2 separate regions of the Homo sapiens genome follow, and region 1 is linked to region 2. Evidence: promoter capture Hi-C in human tissues and cell types (Jung and others, 2019). All regions are on one chromosome and are shown on one strand. Each heading gives the region's core, a stretch centred on a gene start or on the middle of the fragment in contact. The rest is flanking DNA. Distances are from core to core; before and after follow the strand shown. Region 1 overlaps DDX11-AS1 (DDX11 antisense RNA 1). Region 2 holds the start of TSPAN11 (tetraspanin 11).

Evidence for each region. The method cuts DNA at HindIII sites, captures the fragments that hold promoters and counts their contacts. A contact is called where the count stands out against the background at its distance.
Region 1: a contact is called between a fragment that was not itself captured here and the fragment with the promoter of TSPAN11 in region 2, in 2 of the 25 tissues and cell types used here (H1 embryonic stem cells and mesenchymal stem cells).

Annotation. Positions count from the first base shown.
Region 1 is chr12:31,057,058-31,061,998 of GRCh38, forward strand. It overlaps DDX11-AS1 (DDX11 antisense RNA 1), which reads right to left. Exons shown (of 3, transcript NR_038927.2): 2 at 3,603-3,713. Among named protein-coding and RNA genes, the nearest start is that of DDX11-AS1, 14 kb to the right of the region's middle. The HindIII fragment of the contact is 4,210 bases long and covers 556-4,765 here.
Region 2 is chr12:30,923,625-30,928,945 of GRCh38, forward strand. TSPAN11 (tetraspanin 11) reads left to right here and starts at 3,124. Exons shown (of 8, transcript NM_001370302.1): 1 at 3,124-3,172. It overlaps LOC124902911 (a long non-coding RNA gene), which reads right to left and starts at 3,065. Exons shown (of 2, transcript XR_007063264.1): 1 at 133-3,065. The HindIII fragment of the contact is 5,500 bases long and covers 336-5,321 here.

The sequences.
Region 1 (4,941 bases), core at 1,411-3,910, 130 kb after region 2:
GGGTACTCCGTTTTCCCTTTTTCTGTCCTAACCAAGAAACAGAGCGTGCCTCAACTGTTCTGTGACCCCATCAGCTGCACAATTTGCCCGGCAGGCTGGAACCCAAGGTTACGCTTTGAACACTCCCAGGCACCTACAAAGGTGTTTAGGTTGTTGCCCCAAACACTGAGAGGAACTGGCCAGGCCCTGAGCCAAATGCCTTAATCTCTCACCAACTCCATTCCCTGATCCTCATGCTGCAGACCTCACTAGGTAGAGCACCTCTTTCCCTAACTGCCTATCTGGAGGAAATGGTGAAACCCAGTTTCTACCTAAGTTCTCATAATAAATGCTTTGATCTGATCACCCTGGCGTCTAGTGCTTCTTTCTTTGGGATTCCAACTGGTCCCATCTTGGGATGGCTTGGGGTACTCCCTTGTGGGAACTCCCCTGATGCCAGCAGTGGCACCCCAGATGCCACTGCTGAGGTGACTCCAGCTGTGAATTCACTGGAAAAGAACACAGGTATTCCTGATTAGTTCTTTATGCTCCCTCAAAGGTCAGAGCTCAATTTCCTTGCACCTGATTTCTCATCCACAAAATGGTATTTATAACACCTCTGTGGAACTGTCCTCCAATACCCTTCTTCCTTTTTAAAAAACCATGCATTTGGCCACCTGGAATGGAGAACATGTTTTCCACCCCCCTTGCAGCTAGGTGTGGCCACGTAACTAAGTTCTGACCAAGCAGTGGAAGGTAGAGTCCCATATGGCACTTTCAAGAAGTATTCTTAAAGAGCAAGGGCACATGCATTTCTATCCTGCCTGTCTTCTTCGTGACTAGAATGAAACACGATGCCTGGGGCTAAACAGTGATCTTAAACCATCAGGAGGAAGTGATATATTAAAAGGCGGAAGAGCCAAAAGATAGAAAGAACCTAGATCACTTATGCTAGCAGAGCTATTCATCATTTTGCACAGTTTACCTTCAGACTTTGTTCATAAGGGGGCAAGGGAGTGTGAGTTTTCTATCACAGGCAAACCCAATCCTGAGGGATTGACTTAATCTATCAACATTGCTGTGAGGATTTAAGGAGATAATATAAAATCCTTAGCAGTTTTTCTGGCATGAAGTCAGAGGGCAACTTTTTCTTTTTTCTCAAAAGTAATGAAATATTAAGGCTATTGAAACTTGGTTCTGAGAACACTGAAAGATATGGAAAGACCATAGAACCTGTTTCCACATTGGCCAGAATGGACTGACATTACATCTTTGAAGTCGGTCATAATCAGAATGTTTTTCACTGCTTCTAAATTGTATGCACTATTGGATAAAACTGGAACAGTACATGGCCAGGCACAGTGGCTCATGCCTGTAATCCCAGCACTCTGGGAGGCCAAGGCAGGCGGATCACGAGGTCAGGAGATCGAGACCATCCTGGCTAACACAGTGAAACCCTGTTTCTACTAAAAATACAAAAAAAAAATGAGCCGGGCATGATGGCGGGTGCCTGTAGTCCCAGCTACTCGGGAGGCTGAGGTAAAAGAATGGCGTGAACCCAGGAGGCAGAGCTTGCAGTGAGCAGAGATCACGCCACTGCACTCCAGCCTGGGCAACAGAGAGAGACTCTGAATCAAAAAAAAAAAAAAAACCAAAAAAACAAAAAACTATAACAGTACTGACTCCATGTTAGAGAAAAGCTTGTTTGCTTGAATACAGTTATTGCTTTTCCTGAGACTGTAGATTATTCATTAAAAACAGCCTCAGAAATACAGGATCTTCAGCAGACATAAAAGAAAAAACACTGACAAACAACTCTGGGAATGGGCTAAGTGGCTTGATAAGAATAGCCTGATGGTACCTGCAGAAGGTCATACAACATTGACCAAGAAAACAGTGATTGCCTGCCTGCCTGCCTGAGACTTCACATGTTTCATAAGAATGCTCTGATCAGCCAGGTACAGTGGTTCAGACTGGTATTCCTAGCACTTCACGAAGCTGAGGTAGGAGGATTGCTGGAGGCCAGGAGGATGAAACCAGCCTGTGCAGAAAAGCGAGACCCTGCCTATACACAAACAAAAATAATAATAATAATAAATAATAATAATAGCTAGGTATGGTGGTGCATGCCTGTCATCTTATCTACTCAGGAGGATCACTTGAGTCCAGGAGGTCAAGGCTGCACTGAGCCAAGATAACATCACTGCACTCCAGCCTGGGTGACAAAGTGAGACCCTGTGTCTAAAAAGAGAGAGAGAAAAAAAGCTAAGGCTATTTTCAGGTTAGGTCAGGCTTAGTAACAAAAACTTTTTGTGAAATGCTTCGATCATTGTTTGCCCTGCTCCTAATTTCCCTTAAAACCTCCCGGATCAGACAGGTGGTCTTTGAAGATGAGTTCACAGCCTCCCTCGAGTTTTTGGCTTCCTGAATGTAGCTAACTTTCCCTTTCACCAACATTTGTCTCTAGACTTTTGGCTTTCAAGCAACAAGTGGCCTAGATCTGGGTTTGGTTACAAATTTTGGCAAGCCCAGCCAGAAGCCGTGTGCTCTGGGCTGTTTGCACCCTGTCAGCTCCCAACAGACAAAGCAATTGGTCACAGCTTCATACCAGGACTAACTCATCCATATTGTTGGGAGGACTTCTTGGTTCCCAAGAGGTGGAGCAATTGATGGCGGCAGCAGGTCAGGGCTAACTCATTCACATTACCAGAGGTTAGCGGCAAATGCTCTGTGGCACTGGCTACTCATGGCAGAAGGGAACTGCAGAGACAGCCCCAAAGTCTGCCAAAGAGAGGCTGCCAAAACTCTTTCTACTTCAGGGAAACTTCCTCCTTTCCCCCATTCAGTACTGACTGCCTACTTTTGCTTTTAGTTGGTGAAAGGAAACTAGCTTTATTTTTTTTATTTTAATTTTTTTTGAGATGGAGTCTCGCTCTGTCACCCAAGCTGGTGTGCAGGGGCGCAATCTCGGCTCACTGCAAGCTCTGCCTCCTGGGTTCATGCCATTCTCCTGCCTCAGCATCCTAGGAGTAGCTGGGACTACAGGCGCCCGCCACCATGCCCGGCTAATTTTTGTATTTTCAGTAGAGACGGGGTTTCACCTTGTTAGCCAGGATGGTCTCCATCTCCTGACCTCGTGATCCGCCCGCCTTGGCCTCCCAAAGTGCTGGGAAACTAGCTTTTTGGATGAGCTGATGAGCTGTACAACCAGGTAAGTCTACTGGGGTGCAAAGTAGTAGTCCACTTTCTTTACCATTTGGGCCTTTGGACCATTTGTGGTACCACTGGTAGAAGAAATGACTCATAGTGACTCCATACCAGTCTCTTCCTTTGTGAAAGCCTGGGTTGGAAAAGTGCTTCATTTGTTTTGGTTGTGTTTTGTTTGTGTCCACCATGGGAAGTTTTTTTCATCAGTCCCCTCTCAGAGCCCACTGTGGTTCATATTGGCTGACTGGTAAGCCTACAGTGATAACCCTACGACAAAAAAGATAATCTACTGCAATAAGGTGTGGTCAATGTACGTGATACATGAGGAAGATAGGTGGCCATTACATGGTTCTTTGAATTTAATGTTATACAGCTTGAACATTTCAATCTGAGATCAGGAAATTGGGACTGCATACCTTATATTCAAGCTTTTATGTTGGTACATAATAAGCACGCTTCCCAGAAAGGTTGCTGGCTGATGGTGCAAACAGGACCATATCAGGTAAAATCTCCTCACTCTCCATTACCTGAGGAGGAAAAGAAGGAGATAGGATAATCTTGTCAACTATAAACCCTCCACAGGCAAATGATGCTGAGGCTTTGCAGGTGCCTGTCCCATTGCAGCCTGCTCTGGCACCTGTGCAGGCTCCCATGGAGGCCCCAGCTGCAGTACCAGCACAGTACCCTGAGTTGCCCCATCTCTGCCCCCTCCACCAGAGGATTATCCAGATAATACAGACTTACAGGGTGTGGTGGCCCCTCCTCATTTTAAAGGTAGCCAAGAAATAGGCTCCCCTTTTAAGACCTGACAAGGCAACTAAATTTGACCACAGCGTACACCCTCATGCGGCAGAACAATTTCTGTTATGCAAATTCCCCGCTGGAGGATTAAATGCACAGGGCCATACTCCTGGGCTATTTTGGTTATTCACCATTTTCTATCTTTGACTAAGTAAATGGAAAAATATTCAAGTCCATCCTATAGGGATGATCCATAGGAGATGACTGAAATATTCACCAGTATTTTTTCTATTCATCATTCCACAATAGCAGGTGTACAAGCATTATTAAATTTTATGATGAAAGGGGGTTATTTTTAGACAAGACTAATGATGGAGCCAGAAGGCTATACCAGGAAGACCCTGCTGGGTCCTCCAACATCCCAGAGGCAATTTCCTTAGTGAAACGCAAATGAAACCTTAATAATGAGGTTATATCTTGACTGTAGGATTACTCCTAAGAAAGGGAGTACCTAAGCAGCAAAGCCTCAATAAAAAACATCCATGACCTCTGGTAGGAGGCCAGTGAAAACCCAGCAGCTTGGTTGAAACAAGTGTAACAGGCTTACAGAAAATATTCAGATATTGATCCAGAGGCTCTGGAACATGTTTGGGTCATAAATATAACTTTCATCAGCCAAAGTGCTTCTGACATTAACAGAAAATTAGAAAAGCAGGAAGGGACTGTTGGAATGAACCCTTCCCAGTTTACAGATATTGCTTACAAAGACTTCAATGCTAGAGAAACAAGAAAAGCTAGACAGGCAACCATTTTCATGGAGACTGTTCAAAAAGGTGGAAGAATGAGGGGTGAAATAGAAAGGAATCCCTAGACAAGGACCAGTGTGCCTACAGTGGGGAAATCTGGACATGAGAAGTATGCCCCCCTAAGCTACAGAGAAAAGATGGTAATAAAAAAGACAAGGGAGAGGAAAAGGGAAATATACGCCAAAGAAGGAGATGGTGGAGCAGGATT
Region 2 (5,321 bases), core at 1,874-4,373:
TGTTCATTCTCACAGCACCGTCCATTCAATCTCTGGAGTACCCAACCTGGCAGAGAAACCTCCCTCCTCATACAACCACAGAATAAGAATCAAAATGGAATATTTCCAACTCCTATCTCATCTTCCTCATACCTTTTCTAGTCCAAGCTGAATTCCCATCTCCATTTTCATAGATGGTGGATTCTCATTCTTCCCCCTCACCTTCTTCAAGTATGTTTTGTGAAATAACATGGAATAGGTTAGGATCTTGTTAATGGTGCAGTGCTGGTAGAAGAGGCCAATTCCTTCATAAAAGGTAAGGACAAAAGAAAGCCAAAATCAAAAAGTCTAGGAATTAGAATTCTAGGCCTATGTGGTCTGATATGGTAGCCACTAGCCACATGTGGCTACTGAGCACTTGAGATGTGCCACATGCAACTGAAGGGCTGGATTATTTCATTTAATTTTAATTAATATAAACAAATTTAAAAACTGATCATTTGATTTTATTGTTGGAAAGCTAAGTATGTATATAACAACGTAGGCTTGTAAATCTATTTCCTCAACCAAAACGTTATGAAATCTAAATACACACTGAATATTTCCAATGAAAATGTAGTGTTTGCATGTAGATGTGCAATACACATAAAATATAACCAGAGTTGGAAGACTTAGTAGGAAAAAATGTAAAATATCTTATCGTTGATTTTTCATATTGACACACGCTGAAATGATATTTTAGATATACTGTGTTAAATAAAATATATCATTACAATTACTTTCACCTGTTTCTTTATATTGATTTTTTTTTTTAAACGTGGCTCACGGAAAATTTTTAATTACATATTATATTTCCATTGGTTCTCCACTGTAAACGTTTAATGTTACTGGGGATACTGCTGGAGAGGGACTACCCTAGCCCAGAGCTTCATTCATCACTCACCCTCTCCTACTGCTAGAAAGTCACTCCAGGCCGTTTTCCAACCCTCTCTTTCCTCATTGCTGTTTTAATGTTATTAACTTTGGTGAATACTGACCTCCCCTCACCCTTACCCTCTTCCAGCATTCTCCCCTCCTCGGGCCTACTCCACTCTTCTCTCTTCCATCCGGCTTTTGAAAATCCATCTTCTACTACGAATAAGCTTCCTCTTCGCTCCCCATTCCCCAGGCTCTTTCCTTCACACCACCTTCTCTGAGTCTTTCTAACCATCCCTGTCTGTTTAAACTGCTCCGTTAGAGGCCAAGTTTTGTTTCCTGCGCCCTTTCTCAGTGTCCCTGTACCTCCGGTTGGATTTCTAGGAAACAGACTCTGCACAGAGATGGAGATGGTATGTGGGAGGTCTCCTGGGACGTGCTCTTGGGAACAACACCTTGAGAGAGTGAGGGAAACAGGATTCGGCAGAGAATGAACTTTAACTGTGCTGCTTTCCACAGAGGCCTCGGCGGATCCCTTGGGAAGCTATGGAGCTGGGGTGGCCCTTCAGGGCCCTCCGTAATGGAAGCAAAGAGGTGAACCTTTGTATCTCCCCATCAACCAATTGGATCCGAGATACAGATGCCCCGCCCCAAGGAGTGGCAACCTGGTTTATATAAGCCACCACTCAAATAGTTATCTTGAACTAGCCCAGAGATCTCCTTCTTTCTAAATCTAAACCTATTTTCTTGGGCGCCCTCCTCCGTGGTGTCCCTGCAGCCCGGGCCCCGGCCCCCATTGAACCTCCCTCTTCTCCTGAGTCCTGACACCCCGCACAGTCCTGACCTTCCCTTATGGTTTCTCCTGATAGTTTCCGTTCCTTTCATGGGCTCCTTCTCGGTAGACCTAGATTCTGTCTTCAGCCCTGTTCTCTGTACCTTTTCTACCCTCTCCCTCCACCTCTTGTGTCGGCCCAACTTCTTTCCAGATGATTCCAAAATTGACATCCCTTGCCTCAGTCTCTCCTATGAACTCCAGAATCACCCTTCCAATTGCATTTGCTGGATATCTGCCCCTGGAAGAAGGTGGCCTGCTTCTCCAATCCAACTTGCTCCACACTAAACTCAGTCACATCACTCCAGGTTCTCCTCCAGACTTCCACAATGTTACAGCCCCAGTGTGCTCCTCCTACACCACACAGTCTGTAGACTCTCCTTTGCTGCAGCTTCCGCATTCATCCCCCAGTTAAGGTCCTCATCTCACGGGACTATTGGAATCATCTCCTTCCTGTGTGGCCCCCCGCGAAGCCCTTCTCAGCAGCCAGCTGGGGTATTTAGAACGTTGGTGCTCCCGGTACAGTGGCTTTGTCAGCGTCCCCTGCCTCCAGTGGCTTCCCTGATCTAGCAACCTGGTAAATGGGTAATCTTCCTCACTGCAGCTAAGTTTCAAAAGAACACGGTTGGATAAGCACAAGGCCCTTGTTACTTTGGGAAATAGATAATCCATGCCCCACTGTTAGGGCCAGTCCCGTTAGGGCCAGCTTTGCACCTTCACAGGGACTCAGCAGGAACAGATGGGCTCTACTCTCTGTTATTCCTTTTTGCTTCAGATTAGAGAGACCTTGATTCTCCCCGGGGCCCAGGAAATGTAAAGCTGATGCTCCACAGGACTCTAAGAGGGACACGGCAGTGATGGGGGCTGGTGAGGAAGGGGGATGGAGAACCTCTCTCTTATCAGACAGGCTTGTCCCTAGGGTCCCTGGAAACCCCCAAAGGCCAACCTCTCCCAGGGGCCGACAAACGTAAAGGGCAGGGAGACCTAAGCGGGGAGCTGCGGAGCGCGGGGAGTTTGAAAGCCGCTCCACCGCCCTACTAGTCCGTCCTTTTGCCCCGCCCCCCTTAGGGATCCCCCCGGCAACCGCACAGCTGCCTCGGACTCTGACTTAATTCCCTCCGCGTGCTCTGAATCGCAGAGAGGCAAACCCCCAAACAAAGAGCCGGCAGCTCGCGTGCGGGGCTCCCGGGCGCGTCCTGCCGGCTGGGCTGGGAGAGCCGGCGCCGGGGCGTCGCGGCCGAGCGCTGGGCAGGCGGGGACTAGAGGGCCGGCAGGAAGCCTCAGTGGGCGCAGGGGCGCGGGCCGGGCTGCCCACACGCTGACCTTCCCGGGCTGGGAGGGAGGAGCGCTGGCTGCGGGCGGTGGGCGGCTGGGCGGCCCCGGGAGCCGCCGCTCTCAGTCTCTCTAGGCGCAGCTCCCTTCGCCGCTTCCGGAGCCCCTGGCAGGGTAAGTGCAGAAGCGCGCCCGAGGAGTGGGGGCGCCGCGGGAGGGGGCTGGGGGTCCAGGAGAGGCGCCTCCACCTCCGCTGCCCGCCCCGCCGGCAGTCCCGAGCTAGACTGTCCCGAGCTTCCCCCGGGCGGGCAGAGGGAAGCCGGCTGGGGATGAGGAGTGGAGGAGGCAGGAATGCCTGGGACACTCGCGGGGCATGTGAGCAGGTATTGGTGTCTGCATGGGACACGCAACACGGTGTCCATAACTATGCGCATGAGTCTGCCTTTCTGCACTTGTGCCTTGGGAGAGAGCTCTGGGCCTCTGAGGGCCTCGTGCCGTCCAGCGTGCCCGGGGCATGTCTGTTCCTCTTGAAAATGTCATTCTTTGTCCACCCTGAATTCGAGTAGCTGCCTCTCATGGCTACACCAAAATGCTGTATCTGGTGCACATTGCTTTCAGAGGGCCTGTCTGCCTGTGCAGGGATGTCCTCATGTTCTGGGCACGTCTGTGTATTTGTGACAACATGGCTGTGTAGGCCCTGTCACCTGTGTTTTCGTGCCCATCCCTGCATGTGCAGTTGGCCGGCTCCGTGTGGAAAGAAGGCATGGAAGGTTCTGGGGTGTATCCTTTTCACCAGCCATATGTGCAGTGTGCACATGTGTGAATTGGTGGAAAGTATGAAAGGGAGGCAGCCCAGTTGGGCTTGGCGGGACAGCATCTTAACTTGAGTCTAAGCTGCTGTGTGCAGGAGGAATAAGTGTTCCAGAGGTCTCCAGTTCGTGGCAAGTATTGTGAGGTGAGCGTGGGGGTGGGGGGTGAGGAGAAGAGGCAGCTTCTGGAAAAACTCATAAGTGCACTCTGGGGCATAGGGTGTGTGTGGGGGAGCGTGAAGAAGAGAATGAGGGTGGTATTAGGCCAAAGTGGATAGTCTGTGTTCAATTTGTGGGCAGCTGGATTGCAGTGGAAAGCAGCAGTTAGAGGCTGGAGACAGGTTTGAATCAGAACTTAATGGTTGTCACTGTGTCAGTAGCATTGTTCCCTGGACAGATAGGTCATCTGGGGCTCAGTTGCTTTTTGTGCAAAATGGGACTAATAACCACTGGCCCCATCTGTCTCCCAAGGGACTGGAGGCTCCAATTAATGCCTGGAAATGCTTTGATGATAGTTAAGACTCCTAGGGTAAGGGGCACTACTGGCCTACAGGGGCCAAGTTGGTGGTCTGGCGAGGGCTTAGGTGGCCCAGAGCTGTTTGGTTTGTGGGTAGCAGAGGGAGGCATTTGTGTGCTGTTTCCCACTATATTCAGCATAGCAGGAATTTTATACCCACCTTTGGACTCGTGTGTAAAATATGTACAGGCCTGTGTGATTCCCCATAGTTCTTGTGTGAGTGCTGCAGAACAAGAGGAAAACTGGCGTTGATGTCTTTAAGTCTGCCTAGAGCACCTTGACTTTCCAGAGAGCCTTTCTTCAGATGAGCCCAGGACATTTATAACCACCAACTTGCTTTTCTTTTTATGCCGCCAAATGAAGCAGTAAGGAGCACCCTTCACAGTTTGTAGCCAGGGAGATAGGAGATGAAGAAGCTTTCCCAGCCAAGGTCACAGGCCTGGGGTGTCCACCACCAAGTTCTATCTCTTGGGTTACAGTGCCTTCAGACCCAGGGCCAACGCTGGACTGGGCTGAAGAAGGAGGGAGGCATCAAAAGTCATGCACAGACGGCACCGAATTCCAGGATGTAGTTGGGTGGTTTGTCCACCCTCGGATGTCACCTGTCACTGAGACTTCTTTGTATGTGATAGCTGTTTAGTAGTGTTTGTAAAAGGAAAGATCCTTGGATGGGAGATGCCGGCAACCCAGGTCAGGTCCCGGCTCAGCTCCCTGCCTGGGGAAGGTCACATCACCTCTCTGGGTCTGCTTCTTCTTTGGTCCAAATCAGGGCATCTTTCCAGATTATCATTCTGTTTTCAACTGTGTTTTGCTTCCTCAGAGAGGCCTTTCCTGATCCCCCATCTAAAGTAGCCACCTCCCAGCCATGATCACATCATTGTTCCTTCCTAGCACTTGCGACCTGTCTGAACTTAGCTTTGCCACATCCTACTACAATGTGAGCTCACCAAAAGCGGGACTGCCTTTGTGCCGTTGCCTGCTGGCTCCACCTGCAACA